4 separate regions of the Homo sapiens genome follow, and regions 2, 3 and 4 are each linked to region 1. Evidence: promoter capture Hi-C in 16 types of primary human blood cells and fetal thymus (Javierre and others, 2016). All regions are on one chromosome and are shown on one strand. The core of a region is centred on a gene start or on the middle of the fragment in contact, and the rest is flanking DNA. Distances in the headings are between cores, read along the strand shown.

Evidence for each region. Contacts are between HindIII fragments. The CHiCAGO score rates a contact against its expected background, and 5 or more counts as called.
Region 2: a contact is called between a fragment that was not itself captured here and the fragment with the promoter of MTCH2 in region 1, in 1 of 17 cell types (monocytes). The highest score is 7.2, in monocytes.
Region 3: a contact is called between a fragment that was not itself captured here and the fragment with the promoter of MTCH2 in region 1, in 1 of 17 cell types (total B cells). The highest score is 5.0, in total B cells.
Region 4: a contact is called between a fragment that was not itself captured here and the fragment with the promoter of MTCH2 in region 1, in 1 of 17 cell types (monocytes). The highest score is 5.5, in monocytes.

The regions. Positions count from the first base shown.
Region 1 is chr11:47,639,023-47,644,165 of GRCh38, reverse strand. MTCH2 (mitochondrial carrier 2) reads left to right here and starts at 1,607. Exons shown (of 13, transcript NM_014342.4): 1 at 1,607-1,787; 2 at 5,115-5,143. The coding sequence starts at 1,701. RefSeq lists a silencer at 1,417-1,686. The HindIII fragment of the contact is 6,217 bases long and covers 1-5,143 here.
Region 2 is chr11:46,799,649-46,805,463 of GRCh38, reverse strand. CKAP5 (cytoskeleton associated protein 5) reads left to right here. Exons shown (of 44, transcript NM_001008938.4): 9 at 4,160-4,264. Among named protein-coding and RNA genes, the nearest start is that of SNORD67, 40 kb to the right of the region's middle. The HindIII fragment of the contact is 2,298 bases long and covers 996-3,293 here.
Region 3 is chr11:48,161,306-48,167,096 of GRCh38, reverse strand. PTPRJ (protein tyrosine phosphatase receptor type J) reads right to left here. Exons shown (of 25, transcript NM_002843.4): 23 at 3,479-3,639; 24 at 2,582-2,717. Among named protein-coding and RNA genes, the nearest start is that of OR4B1, 53 kb to the left of the region's middle. The HindIII fragment of the contact is 196 bases long and covers 2,963-3,158 here.
Region 4 is chr11:46,821,179-46,826,606 of GRCh38, reverse strand. It overlaps CKAP5 (cytoskeleton associated protein 5), which reads left to right. Exons shown (of 44, transcript NM_001008938.4): 2 at 5,339-5,428. The coding sequence starts at 5,376. Among named protein-coding and RNA genes, the nearest start is that of CKAP5, 22 kb to the left of the region's middle. RefSeq lists an enhancer at 1-422. The HindIII fragment of the contact is 8,913 bases long and covers 1-5,428 here.

The sequences.
Region 1 (5,143 bases), core at 358-2,857:
GTGCAATGGCGCAATCTTGGCTCACTGCAACCTCCAACTCCCGAGTTCAAGCGATTCTCCTGCCTCAGCCTCCCGAGTAGCTGGGATTACAGGCACCCGCCATCACACCCAACTAATTTTTGTACTTTTAGTACAGATGGGGTTTCACCATGTCGGTCAGGCTGGTCTTGAACTCCCGACCTCAGGTGATCCACCCACCTCAGCCTTCTAAAGTGTTGGGATTACAGGTGTGAGCCACCGTGCCCAGCCAATATCTGTATTTCAATATAAAGTTTTTTAAAAAAAACCCTTTCCTATGCATAATTTCACTTAATGCTCATAATAACCCTGAGAGATACACAGTAGTGTTAGATTTAGATACAAAAACTGGAAATTAAAGTAGCTAAAATGACAAATGGATGCAGTGGAAAAGCCAGGATCCAAATCCAAGTCTTTCCCCTACAGTACTTCACTCTGCTCCAAGCTCAGATTCACCAAATGTTGTTTGATAGAACACGTGAGCTGGGGCTGAAGGAGCAGGGACAATGCCTTTTTCACTTTTGCCTCTGATAGCCTGTAGACTGGTAGGCACTGAAGTATTTGTTCACTTGTGCAATAAATATTTATTGAGCACCTCGTATGTGCTGGGCACTGAAAACACAACCGTGAACAGAGGCTGTCACGGTTCCTGAACTCATGGAGCTTTCATTCCAGTGGAGGAGACATAATTTCAGTGATAATGCTACGACGGGGCACAATGTGGGAGAAAATAAGAGGGAGGTGGCCAGGCGCGATGGCTCCTCACTCCTGTAATCCCAGCACTTTGGGAGGCCAAGGCGGGTGAATCACGAGGTCAGGAGTTTGAGACCAGCCCGGCCAACATCGTGAAACCCCGTCTCTACTAAATAGACAAAAATTAGCCGGGCGTGGTGGCGTGTGCGTGTAATCCCAGCTACTAGGGAGGCTGAGGCAGGAGCATTGCTTGAACCTGGGAGGCGAAGGTTGCAGTGAGCTGAGATCGGGCCACTGCACTCCAGCCTGGGTGACAGAGCGAGACTCCGTCTCAAAAAAAAAAAAAAAAAGAAAGAAAAAGAAAAGGGGGAGGTAATTTTAGAATGGTCAGAGAAGGTTTTTTTGAAAAGATAACATTAATCAAACGAATAAATGAATGAAAAGCCACTCGCTAGCGGATTCATTATTTGCTATACTTATTTAGAGTTTGTCAGTCACGAGACTGTTACGGCTCTGATGCTGAGTATCTTTTGAATCCTATGTTGATGATGCCCAAAAGGCAAGTGCAGAGATGAAGCATAATGAAGAATCCTTTTCAATTTCTTTTCAGTCCTCTGACCTTGCCTCTGCCGTCACGGTCACACTCCCCCACTGACACTCCCATTCTTCTGTTTCCGGACACTTGCGGCCTGGAAGCGCATGTGCAAGAGAAACCGTCATTCCTGGTGAAGGGCGAGCCCCCGGCAGAACGCATGCGCCTCTGTCCCTTAAGCCCCGCCCCGACCTCAGCGCCCCCTCGCGAGCGCCTGCCGTTTCTCGGGGCGGGACGGGGGGGCGGGGACTGGGCGGAGAGGCGCGTGCTGCTGCGTGCGTGCGCGCGCGCCGCGGGCGGGCCAGTGAAACCGGCGGCCCTGGCACGTGACCTAGGACCGGCTCACCGGGTCGCTTGGTGGCTCCGTCTGTCTGTCCGTCCGCCCGCGGGTGCCATCATGGCGGACGCGGCCAGTCAGGTGCTCCTGGGCTCCGGTCTCACCATCCTGTCCCAGCCGCTCATGTACGTGAAAGTGCTCATCCAGGTATGAGGCGTCGCCGCTCCCTACCCCGCCCGGCGCCCCGTTCGGTCGCTGCTGCTCAGGGCGCCTGAGGATCGGCTCAGCCTTGCGGGCCTTTCATTCTCCCGAGATGCTGCTGCTCCTCCGCTGCCCTTTACCTCCCCGCAGGGACAGCTTCCTCAGTCCCGCGGCCCCGCTTGGGGGCCTCGCCGAGCCCTCGCCTCGCCGCCCAGCGTTGAGGCCCTCTCCTCCCTTAGCCAACCGCCACCCGGCCCTGCCCTGCCCGGCGGATCCTCTGAACTTTGGTTCTTCGTCACTGAGGTGGATCCTGGCCGGTCGCCACCAAAGGCTTCCGAACCCTCCCTCTCGCCCCTCCGAAATTCACATTCACCACTACTCCCCCCAAAATCTCAGACGCAAAACACGAAATACTCAGTTGAAGACAAATGTGAAGTTAGGTGGGAACCAACATTTTATTTTTTATTCCTTTTTTTTTTCTTTTTATGCTACTGTTACTACTGCTTTTCTGTTCCGAGGTTTTCGCACCAGATACTGAGAGAAACACAAGGAGCTCATTCAGAAGTGTTAATGAAGGGGTTGCTCTGTCAGATTTCGGAAGGATGCATTGAGCGCTTTCCAGCAGCGGCCCATGTGGCTCCTGACAATGAAAATCACATTTGTCAGAGCTGGAAATTAGTGAAGCTGAGTTTTAGCGAGTTTAAACATGGGAGTTAGTTTCTAATCTACTGTCAAATAATTATTACATGGTATTTTATATTCACATGCAGGTAGGCCAAGTAAGTGATAGACTTAGTGTTTCCAGTTCCTTTGCTATATCCCTGTAATGGGCAGGTCATTCTTTTTTTTATGCTTTTACTGAGAGTTGACATAATTACCTCATGCACTGTGCCTAGGAATGGAACAGTTTTTAGAACCCCTGTCTCGCCGTCTACTTTTCTGTAAAAAATAGGCAAGACACTAGAGAGGGCCCCATTTCTTATTCTTGAGTTGTTGGGAATCCAAATTATTTCTTGCTGAGTAGACCTGTGTGAATTCAGATTCCATATGTTAAAGGCTATTGCAAATAAATTCTTTGTACTTAGAACAAAGACTGATTAGAATGTACTGTAACATCCAAAACAGAATTGGCACATTTGGGGCTAGATAGCATCGGAGGTGACAGCATGTTGCAGTATATAGTAAGAACCCTTGGGGCCGGGCGCGTTCGCTCACGCCTTCCCAGCACTTTGGGAGGCCGAGGTGAGCGGATCACGAGGTCGATGTTTGAGACCAGTCTGACCAACATGGTGAAACCCCGTCTCTACTAAAAATACAAAATATAGCCAGGTGTGGTGGTGCGTGCACGTAATCCCAGCTAGTCGGGAGGCTGAGGCAGGAGAATCGCTTGAACCCGGGAGGTGAAGGTTGCAGTGAGCCGAGATCGCGCCATTGTACTCCAGCCTGGGCAACAGAGCAAAACTCAGCCTCAAAAAAACAAAACAAAACAAAAAAGAACCCACTACTCAATACTTCTCTGGGAGACGGGGTTTTCTAATGATGTTCAGAGCTCTTGCCCCAAAAACTTTGAATATTCTTAATTCTGATTTCACAACATCTATGTGTTGCCAAGTAGCCCAGGAGTTTTGGTGAAATTCCCAAATGCTCAGTTGTAAAAATAGTTACTTGGGCCGGGCACGGTGGCTCACGCCTGTAAATCCCAACACTTTGGGAGCCTGAAACAGGCGGTTCACCTGAGGTCAGGAGTTAAAGACTAGCCTGGCCAACATGGCAAAACCCCCTCTCTACTAAAAATACAAAAATTAGCTGGGTGTGGTGGTGGGTGCCTGTAATCCCAGCTACTCAGGAGGCTGAGGTACGAGAATGGCTTAAACCTGGGAGATGGAGGTTGCAGTGACCTAGATCGTGCCACTGCACTCCAGCCTGGGCGACAAGAGCGAAACTCTGTCTCCAAAAAATAAATAAGTAACTAAATAAAAATAAAAATGGTTACTTGGTAGCACTTTCAGGGAGCTCAGACAGGAGTTATTTGTTTATTTATTTGTTGTTGTTTTTGAGATGGAGTTTTGCTCTTGTCACCCAGACTGGCATGCAATGGCACAATCTCGGCTCACTGCAACCTCCGCCTCCCAGGTTCAAGCGACTGTCCTGCCTTAGCCTCTTGAGTAGCTGGGATTACAGGTGTCCGCCACCACACCTGGCTAATTTTTGTGTTTTTAGTAGAGACAGGGTTTCACCATGTTGGCCAGGCTGGTCTTGAACTCCTGACCTCAGGTGATCCGCCCACCTTGGCCTCCCAAAGTGCTGGGATTACATGCATGAGCCACCACGCCAGCCCAGGAGTTACTTAATAGGACAGATTAAGAGTCACAACAATAATCAAAACTATGTCCTACAGCATTCATTCTGTCAAGTATCTGTAGTGTTAAAAATCCTGGGTATATTGTACAAAGACCATGGTAATCATTAACTATATAAAATGGACTTCATTAGCTGTTAATGACAGCCTGTGTTTTTTTGTTTGTTCGTTTGTTTGTTTGTTTTTGAGATGGAGTCTCGCTGTTGTCGGCCTCGGCTGGAGTGCAGTGACACAATCTCGGCTCACTGCAACCTCTGCCTCCCGGGTTCAAGTGATTCTCCTGCCTCAGCCTCCCAAGTAGCTGAGATTACAGGCGCCCGCCCCTACGCCCGGCTAATTTTTTAGTTCTAGTAGAGACAGGGTTTCACCATGTTGGCCAGACTGGTCTCGAACTCCTGACCTCAGGTGATCCATCCCCCTCGGTCTCCCAAAGTACTGGGATTACAAGGCATGAGCCACTGCGCCCGACCGACAGCCTGTTCTTCTAACATGAAGTTAGCTTGTAATTCTTTCCTAAGTGAATTATCCAGCTATATCTGCATTTGCCTTTTGAGTGTTTTGTCTGGGTTGCCAAATATGCAGCTGATGCTGGCGTAATGGATGTCTTCTAGTTTTGTTCAAATACAAAATGTGCCTTAGATTTTATTTAGAAGGTATTTTTGAGCCCCCTTAGTAAACTGTAGCTTTCCTAACGCAAAAGTTCCCTTCTTTCAGTTTGATATTAGCCTATTTCAGCTACATGGTTTACGTCATAGAATTTGAACCAAAATGAAACTTGGAGTTTATTGAACTCAGTATTACCAACAGAAGAAAAACCTACAAGAATGATGCTTCATCATTGCCTTGGAAAACCTATGCTGCATTTTTACTTGTGTTTAAAAATAACCCAAATTGTGTTCTTTATTCAAGACCTTGCAAGCAAGACATTTCTGGAAATATTGCTTTAATATTGATATATTCCATTGTTTTTAAAGGTGGGATATGAGCCTCTTCCTCCAACAAT
Region 2 (5,815 bases), core at 895-3,394, 840 kb after region 1:
ATCTCTTCTTTGTATTGTATAAATCAAGTAATCCCATTAATTTCTCAATTTTTTTCCTTTAATGAAAGTAGTAAAAAGGCATTAACTTTAAAATTTCTTATGATATTCCTGAAATTATTTTTAAACTGTTTTGAGTTGTCACCTGATTTAGCATATTCTGTGGGCTTTCCTGTTCTCACAGATTATAGTTCTTTTTTTTCTATTATTTTTAATTGATGTATTTATTTTTGAGACAGAGTTGCGCTTTGTCACCCAGGCTGGAGTGCAGTGGCACGATCTCAGCTCACTGCAACCTCCATCTCCCGAGTTCAAGCGATTCTCCTGCCTCAGCCGCCTGAGTAGCTGGGATTACAGGCGCGTGCCACCATGCCCGGCTAATTTTTTTTTTTTTTAATTTTTAGTAGAGACAGGGTTTCATCATGTTGGTCTTGAACTCCTGTCCTCAAGTGATTTGCCTGCCTCAGCCTCTGAAAGTGCTGGGATTACAGGCGTGAGCCACTGCGCCTGGCCTATAGTTCTTTTATTTATAAGATGCCTCCCTCCCAGCTCATCGCTTCTTTGATTTTGTCATGTGCCTATGCCTATGGACATTTGATTTTTTATATATATATAATTTATTTATCTTTACATTAAGATTTGGATTTTCGAAGTGCTTTCTTATATAATCTTTAGACTTCTATGTGGTATTAATCTTTTTTCACTTGTTCTTTCTACTTTTCCCCCCTTAATTATTGCTTGTTTTCATCATAGTTTTCTAAACACAGTAATTCATAATGGGTTTCATTAATTTGTTTCCTTTCCTCTGTCAACGGTGTGCTTTAGTTATTATTAACTAGTGGCTTTAATTTCTAGTTAAAGATAAATACCAATTGATAATTACTTTAAAGCACTTTGTTTTAATACTGTAGGCCTCAATTTATGAGAAAAGTGACAGCACTTAAAACTGTACAAGATTTCCTATTGTTTAAATTATATTGAGATTATGAGCTAAAGCTTCCATTCCCTGGTCTAGAACAGAAATTACTGAAAAGACAGAAGTCATTGTTTTTCTTACCTCTGAAATGGAGTCCCCCCTCATATGTTACTTTTCTTAAAAATAAACACTTCTCCATCTTCCCTACTCTCATTTCCCTGTTGAGAATAACTTGTTTATGGGAATAAACAATGAGTGTCAATGAGTGTGACAGGCAGGTATTATATTAGGGTATCTGGTCCATTGCTCACTTATAAGTTTATTTGAGCCTTTGCAATCTTGAAATTTAACAGATTCGCAGTATCTTCTTCAATACTATACAATAAGATCATGAGTGTCTAGAGTCTAGCTCCCACTGGTTACTGTTCCAACAATGGATAGGGAGAGGTATTCTCCTAAGAAAGGAATAGAATGATAGTTTTTTAACTGAGCCCATATGACAAAATCACCCTTTGAGCCATTTAAAAATACTGATGTCCAAATTTCATCCCAGATTCATTGAACTAGAATTTGTTGGAATGGGATCTTACATGTTTTTGATGTCCATTCCTAGAATATATATTTAGATGCTAAATATAAAGCCTAGCATCTAAATCATATCTGAGAGGTATTTTGATAAGGAAAAATAATCAGAACATTTATAAATACCAATAGTGATTTCAATACAGAAATGAATGGAAAATTTTTTTCTTCATAGACTTACAGTAATTAGAGATTTAACAAAATGTTTATTAGGACCCTGATCTCATCCTCTCGTAAGGAAAAGTGAACTTAACACAAGTTGAGAGGGAGAACATGCTTTACTTAATAAAAGGAGCAAAAACTTTGGAGTCAGAATTGACCTGGGTTTGAATCACACAGCATTACCATTTGCTAACTACCTGACTGTAAGCACATTAATCTTTATTTAATTTTTAGAATCTGGCTGGGTACAGTAGGTCACATCTGTAATCCCAACACTTTGGGAGGCCGAGGCGGGCTGATTGCTTGAGCCCAGTAGTTTAAGACCAGACTGGGCAACATGAAGAAACTCTGTTTCTACAAAAAATAGAAACATTAGCAGGTGTGGTAGCATGTGCCTTTAGTCCCAGCCAGTCGGGAGGCTGAGGTGGGAAGATCGCTTGAACCTGGGAGGGGGAGGTTGCGGTGAGCTGAGATCAAGCCAGACTCTGTCTCAAAAAAAAAATCTTTTTGAAGTCTGCACTTTTTTGTTGTTTTTTTGTTTCTGAGATAGTGTCTCGCTCTGTCACCCAAGCTGGAGTGCAGTGGTATGATCTTGGCTCACTGCAACCTCCGCCTCCCAGGTTCAAGAGATTCTCCTACCTCAGCCTCCTGAGTACCTGGGACTACAGGCGCATGCCACCATGCCTGGCTAATTTTTCTATTTTTGGTAGAGACAGGGTTTCGCTATGTTGCCCAGGTTGGTCTTGAACTCCTGGGCTCAAGCGATCCTCCCACCTCAACCTCTTAAGGTCCTGAGGTTACAAGCGTGAACCACCATGCCTGGCTGTGAATCTGCAAAGTTGAAATAATAATAGTCCTTACCTCATAGGGTTTGGGTGAAAATTAAACTTAAAAAGGATTATAAAGTGCCTACAAAATTTTGGTGCCTAATTTGTTTTTTCAATAAATGTTAGTTTCTTTATCCTTATTCCTCAGCACTTAAGGAGTGCATATAAGTGCCAAGTAGAACTTCTTTCATGTTGCATGTTAGGAGTTGTTTAATGCAGAGAATCTAGAATAAAGCATTCTGCTTATGGAACACCACATTGTAGGGACTAGATAAAATTCAAAGTAGACTGGAGGCATTACTCTTACTGGGAAAAGAGTGAAAAAAGAAGAGTTGGGGGCATTTAAAAATAAAGCAGCCGTGTGTGTGTGTGCATTTATAAATAAAGCAGCCGTGTGTGTGTGTGTGTGTGTGTGTGTGTGTCTGTCTGTCTGTCTGTCTGTCTGTCTTGCTCTGGTACCCAGGCTGGAGTGCAGTGGTGCGATCTGCACTCACTGCAACCTCTGCCTCCCAGATTCAAGTGATCCTTTTGCCTCAGCCTCCCAAGTAGCTGGGACTACAGGCACACGTCACACTGCCTGTATTATTATATAATAAAGCAGCTTTTTAACACCAACTGATTGGGCAGTGTACCACAGTAAAATCTTACCAGGAAGGAACCCAGTCGTAGTCAGTATCTTGTTAAATTGACACAGATGCAGCTACTACCCGTGAGTTTAGATAAGTGCTGGGCTTTGTGGGTTGTGGCATAGGAGGGCAGTAATATAAGCAGTGCTAGAGGAGAATCGACTGAGACTCTGAATTGAAGCTTAACCATTATTAGATGACTGAAGTGGCAGCCTCAAGGCCAGAAGCTCCCTCAGAAGAATGGTTCTCAGAAGAATGCAGTAGCATTCACAATTTAGAGTCCCCATGGACTTCCTGAAGGTACCTGCAGCCGTTTGTACTGGTGCTTCTTGGTTATGAATATTAGAGCTGTTGCCCTGTGATGTCTTTCAGAGATACATTGCCTTTTCATTTTCCTTGTCCCAAAGCAAAGTCAGCAGACCTCTCGTCTCTCTGCCATTATCAGGGTCATTTCCTGCACAGTTGAACAGTGCTGACAGCCCAGACTGCCACTACTGGATAGTGAGCAATTTGATGTTGTGGTTTTATCTATGTTTTATTAGTAGAACTTTAAGATAGAAGACTAAACATAATGAAGGGAAGCTCCCAAATTCGATACAATGAAAGAAGAATTTCTCCTCTGTTGTAGTAAATAAAATTGGTCATATATTAGCATAAGAGCTTTCAGAGTTCTTTTTTTTTTTTGAGATGGAGTCTTGCTGCGTTGCCCAGGCTGGAGTGCAATGGTGCAATCTCGGCTCACTGCAGCCTCCGCCTCCCAGGTTCAAGTGATTCTCCTGCCTCAGCCTTCCAAATAGCTGGGATTACAGGTGCCTGCCACCATGCCTGCTTAATTTTTGTATTTTTAGTAGAGACAGGGTCTCACCATGTTGGTCAGGCTGATCTCAAACTCCTGACCTCAGGTGGTCCACCCACCTTGGCCTCCCAAAGTGCTGGGATTACAGGTGTGAGCCGCTGCACCCGGCCTCAGAGTTCTTTTGAGAATAAAATTTCAATACCCTTCTACATGGCTGTGACTATTTTGTTTTCCTTTTTACCCCCCTTTGTAGGTTGTTGGAAAGGACACCAATGTCATGTTGGTGGCTTTGGCAGCAAAATGTCTTACTGGCCTGGCTGTTGGGCTAAGGAAGAAATTTGGACAATATGCAGGACATGTAAGTAACACTCCTTTTTAGATACAGATCAACAAAATTTATCAAAAATGGTAGGCCTAGTTTGCTGTTTGCTTTAAAACAACTCCTTGGCATAGATGTGTATATACTGTACAAAGTAAATTTCTCTCTGTTTTGTTAATATTCAGCATAGATATATCTTAGAAATTTCAGTAGATGTCAGTTGTAACAAAATTTATAGGCCTTATGTAGAAAGTCAGGCACTAGGCCTAAAGTACTTAGTTGAGTTTATTTATTTGCTTATTACTTATTTACTTACTAGTATCTTGCTTTGTTCTTACAACATTATACACATCATAACAAGATGAAACAAAACTTGTAACGACCAGGACCAGAATGAAAATGAGAGTCGGAAAGGCAATGTAAAACTATAAATGTAAAACTGTGAGGTTAATATATAAAATGTGTTTTACATTGTTTTCCTATTTTAATATATAATTTACTTACATATTTGAGACATTTTATATAGGTTACAATGTTATATATTTTATATAGGTTATCTCCGTTTTACTTATTCAAAGAAAATCTGACTGGAGACATTTGTTGACTTACTATTTGTATAAGTTTGTTTCCAATCAAATTTGGTAATAATTTTAATTAAGATGTTTTCTTTAACTGTGGCATCTGTCCTTTGGCCTCTAAATCCGGTCTGCATTACTAAGAATGGCTCAGCATCCTAAAAATTGACCTTATTGATCTTTAGAGTTTAGCTTGCTAGCCCCTTCATCATTTGATTCCCTAGACTGACTTAGGAGTTTCCTAATAGTCCCTAGTCATGTGTCCATTTTATATTGTGAAGCTAATACCTAGCCTCACATGAGCTATGGTATTTGGAGCTTGCTTACTCATAGCATTAAAAATAATCTCAGAGAACTTAACTGAAGAAAAAGAAGACACTACCAAATAAAAATAAATCATGACTGGCTTATTACTAGGGAAATAAAAATAAGGGTCTGTAAAACCCTTAGACATATACATCATAAATTGAAATAAAATTAAAATCTATTTTTATAGCAATCAATATTATATAATATCGATGTGTATATGCCATTTTGATCAATTTTATATTACTTAGGATATTTTACACTTTTATATTGGGAATAATTTTTCAAGATAAAAAACAATTTTTTCCTACACCACTTAAATATCAGTTCAGAGAATAATTTTAGTTTTTTTTTTTTGAGACAGGGTCTCACTTTGTCACCCAGGCTGGAGTGCAGTGGCACCATCTCAGTTCACTGCAGCCTTAACCTCCTAGGCGCAGGTGATCCTCCCACCTCAGTCTCCTGAGTAGCTGGGACTTCAGGCACACCCCACACCATGCTTGAGTACTTTTTGTATTTTTGGTAGAGATGGGGTTTTGCCACCTTGCCCAGGCTGGTCTCGAAATCCTGAGCTCAAGCTATCTGCCTGCCTCAGCCTCCCAAAGTGCTGGGATTACAGGCTTGAGCCACCACACCCGGCCTAAAATTCATTTTAATTTACCAAATTATGGTTGGATAATTAACTGGCTTTCCAGTTTGAGTTCTGATT
Region 3 (5,791 bases), core at 1,811-4,310, 520 kb before region 1:
ATCCACCCAACAGCAAACGGTTCAAGCGAACATGTTTCAAGAGGTAACAACATTGCAGTGAAATCTGAAATCACAGAAGCAAGATGTCCTTCCTCAATGATTCTCAACCAGAAGAGCACACTCCACACCTCCCCTCCCCAAGGAAAAATGCCACAGTCTCAGGGAAGGGCAAAGGAAGGAGGAAATGTAGAGGAAAAAATGCACACACACATTCGAACAATCAAATGTCCAACAAGATTGCCTTGGCTAGTGAGACTGTACAGAGTAAGAATCAACTGTAATGCTCAACCGAGGAGCGAGGTTAAAAGGAGATGATCAGGTGGAGCTGGATGAGGACTATCCTTCAGGTAGGTATATCAGAATCTGTGGATAGTGATGAAGAAAAGAGGAAACAAGGGTATAAGCTGACACAGAAAAATATCCATGATATTATAAGAGGAGAAAAAAAATCACAGAGAAGCAACATACATAAAACAGGATCTGGCCAGGCGCGGTGGCTCCTGTCTGTAATCCCAGCACTTTGGGGAGGCCAAGACAGGTAGATCGGCTCAGGTTAGGAGTGCGAGATCAGCCTGGCCAACATGGTGAAACCCCGTCTCTACTAAAAATACAAAAATTTGCTGGGCGTGGTGGCACACACCTGTAATCCCAGCTACTCAGGAGGCTGAGGCAGGAGAATCGCTGGAACCCAGGAGGTTGAGGTTTCAGTGAGCTGAGATGGCACCACTGCACTCCAGCCTGGGCAACAGAGCAAGACTCCATCTCAAAAAAAAAACAGCATCCAATTTTTTCAAAGTACTGTGTGTGCGTGTGTGTGTGTGTGTGTTTACAGATGTACATAAAGAGTCTTATAAAGATGTACACCAAACTATAAACATTGGCTACCTCCAGGAAGCAGGATTGGGGAAGGAAGAGTAAGAGAAAAATATATTGAGGCCAGGCACGGTGGCTCACACCTGTAATCCCAGCAATTTGGGAGGCCGAGGCGGGCGGATCATGAGGTCAGGAGATCGAGACCATCCTGGCCAACATGGTGAAACCCCATCTCTACTAAAATACAAAAAAAAAATTAGCTGGGCATGGTGGCACACGCCTGTAGTCCCAGCTACTTGGGAGGCTGAGGCAGGGGAATCGCTTGAACCCAGGAGGCAGAGGTTGCAGTGAGCCGAGATCGCACCACTGCAATCCAGCCCGGTGACAGAGCAAGTCTCCGTCTCAAAAAAAAAAAAAAGAGGAGAGAAAAATATATTGTCAAATGCTTTCATATGAATAAGTATTGTTTTCAAAATATAAAAAAGAGATTAGACTCTAGTAGCAGGGATAAGAGTTCTATGTTTCTCAAAAAAGGATAAAAGATTGAGAAATACTACTTTATATAATTATAGCAGAAAAAAGAAAATCTCTCTTTTGACCAACACAGGAGTTGAATTTCACTCTTTCCACAACAACCACCAAGCTCACCCCAGAGCACGCAATGTACCCAGGCATCTAGAACATTCCCTGCTAGACTCAAAAACACAGCACATATTCATAGAGTTCTAAATCGGTACAGGACGATAGCCTGATACAAAATTAATATTCTGCTCTCATCCTGGTCAAGGAACATTCACCCCTTTGAGGAAAGCAACTTTGCAATATGTTCTGTTGAAAACATGCCTCAAAAACACTTCTCAGTAACAGTTTGGGTAAAACCAAATCCAGCAGTAGTACAGAAACTATACCATAGATATTAAGTGTTCCTTTTCTCCGCTGGTCAGCCACCCTTCTGTAGCTATGATAATTGATAGTCTTTAAAATGTACAAGTCTGGGTGAGGATAAATTGCTGTATTAACATTTAAGCAGCATTATGATATGTCACATCATTAATGTTTGATGAGTTTGTTTCATTAGCTTATTTTAAAGATGGTCAGACCTTCTTAGAAACAAAGACTGGAAAATACCAGTTTTATGAGTTTAAAACCTGGAAGCCAAAGTTCAAAGATGTCCTAAGATTATTTAATGAGTCAGAGGCAGCAAGGTAAAGAATCCTGACACTATCTCAGTAGTAGTTCCATTACTGACATCAGTACTACTATGTCACTTGTATTGGGTAATTTAATTCCAAGTCAGCTTAAAGTCTGCAAAGAAATCCAGTGTTAGTTCACAGCCAAGAGCTGGAAAGATCTGGAAGGGTGACATATTTTAACACAAGTGCATGACACAATGCAACCTTTTAAAAATGGAGGGGAAGGGCCAGGCAAAGTGGCTCATGCCTGTAATCCCAGCACTTCGGGACACTGAGGCAGGCAGATCACTTGAGGTCAGGAGTTCGAGACCAGCCTGGCCAACATGGAGAAACACCGTCTCTACTAAAATTACAAAAATTAGCTGGGCATGGTGTGCGTGCCTGTAATCCCAGCTACTTGGGAGGCAGAGGCAGGAGAATCACTTGAACCCAGGAGGCAGAGGTTGCAGTGAGCCAAGATCATGCCACTGCACTCCAGCCTGGGCGACAGAGCAAGACTCCGTCTCAAAAAAAAAAAAAAAAAAAAAAAAAATGGAGGGGAAGGGTGGAATGTCAAATACAGATCTTGGCCTCACCTCTGTCTGCACCATTAAAGGCCTATGCATTCGAAGGTCATACACAATCCCATACACATCCACGGTGTTCTCATTCTCTATCTGGTAGATGAGACGATCAATGGCAATGAAAGTGCCCGTCCTTCCGACCCCAGCACTGAGAGAAAAGAGAAATAAGCCTATTACAGTGGGTTCCCTCGACTGCAACCCTCTTAGAGTTCCTCATTTGTACATATATCTTGCTTTCCTTCACTGTCACACTTTGAGGGCAATGCACAGGATCAGTACACATTTGCTCAGTTGAAGCCTCAGCAAGTCAGACAGCACTAGCTTGGGACTGGGGCCTAAGTCCCAAACTCACATTTGAGTCAGATGCCACACATATAACCCTTTGCTCAAGCTTCTTCAATCTCAGTTCCATTCAAGTTGCCCATAACCCAGGATGGCGGCACATTTTAGCCATTTTTTCCCCACTGGGCAACAGAGCCCCTCCTGTCTTCTGTCCTAAATTAATTCCTTTAGCTTCAAAGCTAACTTCTTATTGTTAGGGGTTGGCAAACTTTTTCAGTAAAGGGCCAGATAGTTAACATCTTAAGCTTTGCAAACCATATGGTCTCTTTCTGTCACTGTAGCAGAAAAGCAACCATAAACAATATATAAATAAATGGGCATGCTGTGTTCCTAGAAAATGTTATTTACAAAAACAGCAGCTGACCAGATTTGATCCATGGGTTACAGTTTGCCAACCCCTGTTTTGGAAGCTCAGGGCTTAGGGAGTAAGTCCATGGTTCCTTATCCAAACCTTTCCTGAATTCATAAATGCCTATTACATTCCCTCTTAGGCTTTGCTTTTGTAAAGTGCTCATAAATATATAATGACATTTGAAATCTGTCACACGTGACGTGCCATCTGCGTACCTGCAATGCACCAGAATCGGCGATTCGGGAGGACTCTGCTTCATGTAGTCACGAACGAGGTACCGGAAGTTGATGAGCAGGTCAGTGGTGTCGGGAACACCGTGGTCTGGCCAGGAGGTGAAATGGAACTGTCTCAGAGGGTGACTCTCACTTGTCTGGATCTAAAAGCCCAGAAAATGATTTAGATCCAGACAGAAAGGCTGCCTAACAACATCAAAAAGGCAGGGGAAATCAAGCAGAGCCTGAGTACTAACCAGGAGTTGTAATGACTAAAAATTAAACTTTACATTTGCACAGCAGCTGATAAAGTGCTTGCTCATCAAACCCTCACAATATGCTCAAGAAGGAGAGTTTATTATCCCCCTTTAAAGATGAGGCAGCAGAGATTCACAGAAGTGAAGTCATTTCCCCAACACTGATTTCAGATGCAACAGAAGTCCCTCATCCTCCAATTCTGCATTCAGATCCTTCCCTTCCTGCCACAGCTGCCTATCAATAATGAACTCACATTCTTACACCTGCACCTCCTTAGAGCTGCATGAGCCCCATCCCCGAGCCCCCCTGGGAATGTCACTGACAATAAAACCAAAAATAATTTACTCAAATACACCATGATAATCAGTGCCTTCTAGGCAAGAATGGCCTCATAATTCACTATGTCCCCTAGAGAAGTGAATAAAGTGACAGGCCACTAGCAAGCACCATGCAAATATTTAGAATTGGAGAGAGCTGAGAAAGGACTCCCCCAAAAAACCATCCATTTCAACATCTGAAAGACAATAGAGCTCATTATTACACAGACTGGTTCCCTACCTCATACCAAAGCATATACCTTGAAGCACCAGAAGCCCACCCCAGCTGGGGCGAGTCCTGTCCCTGACTCAGCTGTACTCGTTATGCCCATACCAGGGAATGACCATACCCATGTGACCTACATCCGTACCCATGTGACCTACATCTGCACTGCAGGCATTTCCATCTCCATTATGACAGCTGCCCTTTGACACTCATTTTTTGAAATGTATATTCATGATAAGAATGTGCAGTATTCAAAATTTGGAAAACAGGAAAAACAGACAGAGTGAAGGGAGAGGTGCTAGAAGACCTCATCACAGATAAAGTTAACATTCACACATTTAACCAGAAGTACTGATCCAAAGACAGAAACCAGCTGTGAGAGATGGAGGTGGGGGAAGAGGAAGAAAAAGGGAGGGAGAGGGAGGAGGGAGAGGGAGGAGGGAGAGGAAAGGGAGTGGGAGCGGGCAAGGGGAGAAGGAGGGGGAGAGGAAGAGGGAGAAGTGAGGAGGGTTATACTTAGTATTATCTTCGTGGAGGGGCAAAGGGGCTCAGGTTAGGGGTGGTAGTCAAAGGAAATCTTTAGCTCTGTTTGTAATTTCTCGATTTTCTAAAGGAAAATGTATTCAGGCATTTTGTATAATTAAAAAATAACATGGTACTAAATGCCATGTGGTGTCCTGGATCAGAGCCAGGAACAAAACAAGGCTTTAGTGGAAAAACATGAAATCTGAATAAAGTCTGGAGTTTAGTTAATAAAAAATAATAATCATAGTAACAGCAATTTTTAAAAATGATGTGGACAACTCCATCCTAAATTCCCCTCCACAAGGTAAGCCCCAAGCAGTGGAGGCAACCAAGGAGAAGCCAGTCAGTTCAAATGAGCAAAATCTATAGAAATAAGCATGACAGGCCGGGCACAGTGACTCCCACCTGTAATCCTAACACTTTTGGAGGCCGAGCAGGTGGATCACAAGGTCAGGTGTTCAAGACCAGCCTGGCCAATATGGTGACACCCCATCTCTATTAAAAATACAAAAAAAATTAGCTGGGCATGGTGGCAGGTGCCTGTAGTCCCAGCTACTCAGGAGGCTGAGGCAGGAGAATCACTTGGACCCGAGAGGCAGAGGTTGCAGTGAGCTGAGATTGTGCTACTGCACTCCAGCCTGGATGACAGAGAGAGACTCCATCTCAAAAAAAGAAAAAAAAGAAAAGAAAAGAAAAGAAATAAGCATGACATTTTTCTACTACTGTGAGCTGCATTATTTAGGTGGCCAGATCATGGTAACAGCTTTGATGGCATCTCCAGAGGAGGAACTGAAATATTGAGGCCAGACCCTTTGAGACACAGCAATTAGTAAAGAATTACTACTTAATATACTATACTTTATCCATGACTTGTGGAATCTTCAAGGATAATCTCATAAACTAGACCCTAACCCATCAACCCCCAAAACCCACCCAAAAGATTCAAGATTCAACTCCAGTGAATCTATACTTCCCGGCTTTCCTTTTATG
Region 4 (5,428 bases), core at 2,857-5,356, 820 kb after region 1:
TCTACTTCTGGGTGGTGACAGCAGCCGTAGGGTGCTTGTTTGGGCATGCAGTGGGTGAGCAGTGCCCACGACCTGGCTTTGCCCCCACCTGGTTCTTACTTGGGGTGAGGAGAGGGTTGCTTTTACCAGAGTATAACCCATTTGAGCTGAATGGGTGGAGCTGAATCTCTCTCTCTGGGCCTTGGATCCTTACCCTGGTATTTGAAGACCTTGGTAGCTTTGGGATGAGTAAGCATTAGGTTTTCAGCTACCTTGGTACAGTCGAGCAGTAACTCCAAGTTGTCCTAATTCACAGCCAGGTTTAGCTGTCTCTCCAGAGGCCTGTGTTGGTGGTATCCCGTACCCCTTTTGGATATGTTGACAGTGAACATCTCTTAGGAAGAGTCCAGTTAACCTTTCCTCCTGATATAAAGAGCACAATGTGAAAGAGACAGCTCTTTACCCCTCTCCATCTCTGAAGGAATTTGTGGGACGCCACTGTCCCAAGATTAGGAAAGCAAACACACCAAAGTTTGAGATAATCTGCTAGAAAACTGTTCAGATTTCTGGCCGCCTGGTAATGCAGAATACTCCGGCAAGAGGATAACACTTGTCCTTGTTAATGGGAAATACCTGGAGACAGTGAGTTTTTTTTTTAATTTGAGGGAAAGTGTTGTCATTTTTGCCACCTGCTACTCAGAGATGGGATTTTGTCAGATTTTGGTTAAATAATAAAAATCTTAAGTTTTCTATGACAGTTACATAGTTGTTGTGTTTCTTTAATCCAGTTGTCCTTCCTAGACATGGTTTGAGTAGATTTCTGGGCATGTGTATGCATTGCTTTTTTAAAAAAATAATTTCTTTTTTTTTTTTTATGAGCCTATCATCACACTCAGTGGTCATTCAAATGGGTTGCTTTTTGATGGAGCAGAAGTTTTTCTCAAACTTCTGTTAAAATCATTCTGTGCTTCTGCAATAGCATCTCCTTAGCCAGAGGTGAGAGTCCAGGAATGGTAATCAAATTCAGATCTCTTGTATTGTGATAGTGAAGAGCTTTTGTAGGTCAAGAGCTTGGGAATTTGCCATAAAAAAGTCATACTGCCAGTGGTTTTTCTCTAAGTAGAAGAGAAAATAATCTGTACAGTAGCTCTGTAATTACTCTTATAGACTATCAAAATACAGGAATTTAAACTAAAAAGACACCACACTTGGGCCCATGGGTTGTAGGGAAGAGAGACAGACTGAGAAGTAGGAGACATAGGTTCTAGGCCCAGCTCTAGTATTACTCATGACTTAATCTCTCTGTCCCTTTTAAATGGTTGGTTAATGAGAAAATGCACAGATTTTGGGGTCTCTTTTATGATGGGATATAGTGCATATTTAATAGGAAATTTGTTATTTATTTGAACACTAAACTGAAAAATCAGACAATTTGGAATTTATTCTAAGTTCTGCCTTCATGTATAACCTTGAAAACATTTCTTAACCTCTAGTCTAAAAATAAACAATTATGCCTAAACCTTTTCAGCAATAGCATGGACTATATGGTATTTGAGCTCTTAGGAAGACATTTTTAGATCAGTGGTATATGATTATAATATATCTGTAAAACATACTTACTTTAGCTGACCTACTTGTCTTTGCCTCAGTTTTAGACTGGGATAAAATCTGAGAGCTCTGAATAATTGAAATTTCTGAATATGTGTCTTTACTAGGGACTAGATCAAATAAACCACAGCAAGCATTATGTATAGTTCAAATTAATCTTCTTAATGCTTCTCTTTGTTGGCAATTTTATTTGCTCTTTAGGCATCAAACTCTACTGTGTAGCAAAAACTTGGTTCTTATATCTGTTTATAAAATCCAGATCAGTCTGCTCATCCCTATATGATACTTTTAACTTTTTGAGAAACTTCCAAATGGTTTTACACAGCAGCTAGACCATTTTGCATTCACAGCAGCTGGACCATTTGGCATTCAACTTAAAAAATACAGAGGTATAATAATTTTTATTGTATTTTACAGACATACTAGTATTCAGTTGGTGGGGGTGGTAGGGGGAAGACTGGTCCTGAGTTTGAAAAGCACAGTTTGATGAACATGTGAACTGTTTCCAGCTTTTGACTACTATGAACAACATTGCTATGACTATCCCTATATAGGTCTTCTGGTGTAATTTGCATCAGTTTCTAGGCTATACACCTAGGAATGGAGTTGCTGGGTGGTAGGGCATGTGTATCTGATAATGCCATACTGTTTTCCAGACTGTTAAACTATTCTGTCTCCCATCATTGGTGTATTTGAGTTCCTGCAGATTCTCCTGACTCCTTTAAATTACACTGCTGCTGTTTCATGGCAATCCTAGGGATTTTGAAGAAAAATCTTAATGAAAGTTCCACATATCCTAATAAACTTTTACAATTCCATCTTTCTCTGGGACATTTTCTTCTTTGCCATGGGAGGGAACAAAATGTAAAGGAAGAAGCATAGACTATGAATCTTAGTTTAATTTCATTGCTTACCAGTTTTGTTGTTTTGGCAGGTTACTTAATATTTGTGAAGCTAGTGTGTAAAATGAGAATATCTTTCCTTCACATAGTTGATGTCAGTATAAAGTGAATTAGCGTGTTTAAAAAGTACTTTGCACCATGCCTGATTCAGAATAGATATTACCAGAGTATATATTCAATAAACAAATATTTATTGAAAACATATTTTATGTCAGGCCAGAACTAGGGATGGAGAATTACGGAGGACCGCTTCTATGTTATTAATAATATTGAAAAATCGGCCAGCCTGGGCAACATAGTAAGACCCCATCTCTACAAAAAACTAAAAAATTAGTTGGGCATGGTGACATGTGCCTGTAGTCCCAGCTCCTTGGGAGGCTAAGGCAGAAGAATCACTTGAACCCGGGAGGCGGAGGTTGGGAGGATCACTTGAGCCCAGGACATCAAGGTTGCAATGAGCTGTGATCACACCACTGCACTCCAGCCTGGGTGACAGAGTGAGACCCTGTCTCAAAAATGAAAAAGAAAAATTGGAAACAATTTAAATGTCCAATGGTAGGGTTGGTAATTATGGTACATTTGTAAAATGGAGTGCTATGTAGACTTTAAACATCATATTCTCAAATCTGGGAAAATGTTTGTGATCATATAACAAAAATGTTGTAAGGGGATTATGCCTGTCTTTTTCATATGATTTATATTACTACATGTGTATTGAAAAAAAACTGGATACGTACTTTAGTGTTCATCATGGTTATTAGGTGGTGGTAAAATTGTATTTTAATACTTAGATTTTTTTCTGTAGTTACTAAATTTTCTGCAGTTTACACACATTACTTTTATAAGAAAAAGGTGTTGTCTAGATAGATAGCATAGGGGTGGGTGCGGTGGCTCACGATCAGTGGGATCACTTGAGCCCAGGAGTTCGAGACCAGTCTGGGCAATATAACGAGACCTTGTCTCTACAAAAAATTTCAAAATTAGCCGAGCATGGTGGTGCACACCTGCAGTCCCACCAAATCCTAGCTACTCAGGAGGCAGAGGTGGAAGGATCGCTTGAGCCCAGGAGGCAGAGGTTGCAGCGAGCCAAGATCGTGTTCATTCCACTCCAGCCTGGACGACAGAGCAAGACGCTGTCTCAAAAAAAAGAAGATAGGTAGCATAAAGTTATTAAAAGGATGTTGACTTTAAACCTCACTTAAAAACATGGTTTACATAAAGAATATGTATAAAGGTTCATTCAGGGATTTAATTTTGTACTTGTTTATATAAACATTGACTAGTCATGTTTGCTAGAATTAGGGAGCTTGGCAGTATCAACATTTTTACATATTGATTCTTTCCTTTTCTTTCTTTTTTTTTTTTTTTTTTTTTTTGGGACGGAGTCTGTTGCCCAGGCTGGAGTGCAGTGCGATCTCGGCTCACTGCAAGCTCCGCCTCTCGGGTTCACGCCATTCTCCTATCTCAGCCTCTAGAGTGGCTGGGACTGCAGGCGCCAGCCACCAAGCCCGGCTAATTTTTTGTGTTTTTAATAGAGATGGGATTTCACCGTGTTAGCCAGGATGGTCTCGATCCTGACCTCGTGATCCGCCCGGCTCGGCCTCCCAGACTGCTGGGATTACGGGCGTCAGCCACCACACCCGACCCCCATATTGATTATTTTCTATAAGTAATTCTAGGTGAAAGTATGACTTTTTCCAAAACTTTTTTCTTGGCCTTTTAAAAGGCCATTTAGCTCAGCAATTCAGTTTTATTCCAGCTTCGTTTTATATCTAAGAAGTTCTTATTTGGGAAAATAAAAGCATCATTTTTTAGAAAACAAATTTTTGGTTTTTTTGAGACAGGGTCTTGCTCTGTTGCCCATGCTGGAGTGTAGTGGCATGATCACAGCTCACTGCAACTTCTGTCTCTTGGGCTCAAGTAGTCCTCCCACCTCAGCTTCCCGAGTAGCTGGGACTACAGGCACACACACCACTACGCCTGGCTAATTTTTGTGTTTTTAGTATAGATGGGGTTCCACCATGTTGCCCAGACTGCAATATATTTATATTTATATTTTTTGAGTGACTTTATTTTTTTGAGATGGAGTCTTACTCTGTCGCCCAGGCTGGAATGCAGTGGGACAATCTTGGCTCACTGCAACCTCCTCCTCCCAGGTTCAAGCGATTCTCCTGTCTCAGACTTCCGAGTAGATGGGACTACAGGCCTGCACCACCACACCCAGCTAATTTTTGTATTTTCAATTGAGACGGGATTTCACCATGTTGACCAGACTGGTCTTGAACTCCTGATCTCAGGTGATCTGCCCACCTCAGCCTCCCAAAGTGCTGAGATTACAGGCATGAGCCACCACTGTGTCCTGTCTTTTGAGTGACTTTAAAAAAAAAATTCTATTGGCCGGGCGCGGTGGCTCACGCCTGTAATCCCAGCACTTTGGGAGGCCGAGGCGGGTGGATCACGAGGTCAGGATCGAGACTGTCCTGGCTAACATGGTGAAGCCCTGTCTCTACTAAAAATACAAAAAAATTAGCCGGGCGTGGTGGCGGGTGCCTGTAGTCCCGGCTACTCGGGAGGCTGAGGCAGGAGAATGGCGTCAGCCCAGGAGGTGTAGCTTGCAGTAAGCGGAGATCGGGCCACTGCACTCCAGCCTGGGTGACAGAGCGAGACTCCGTCTCAAAAAAAAAAAAAAAAAAAAAGTCCTGTTAATTGAATTAAGTGGGGATCTGACGAAAGAACGGGATTTTTACTCTTGTTGTTGCATGAATGATAAAATAATAATCTCAGAAAAGTTATTTTTGTCTTAAGAGACTGCCTGGTTGCTAAGCAGGTTTCTACCTTTATCTGACCAGGAAATACTCTTAATTCTAAGGAAAACCTGGAAGCACAATGGGAGATGACAGTGAGTGGTTGAAACTGCCAGTTGATCAGAAATGTGAACA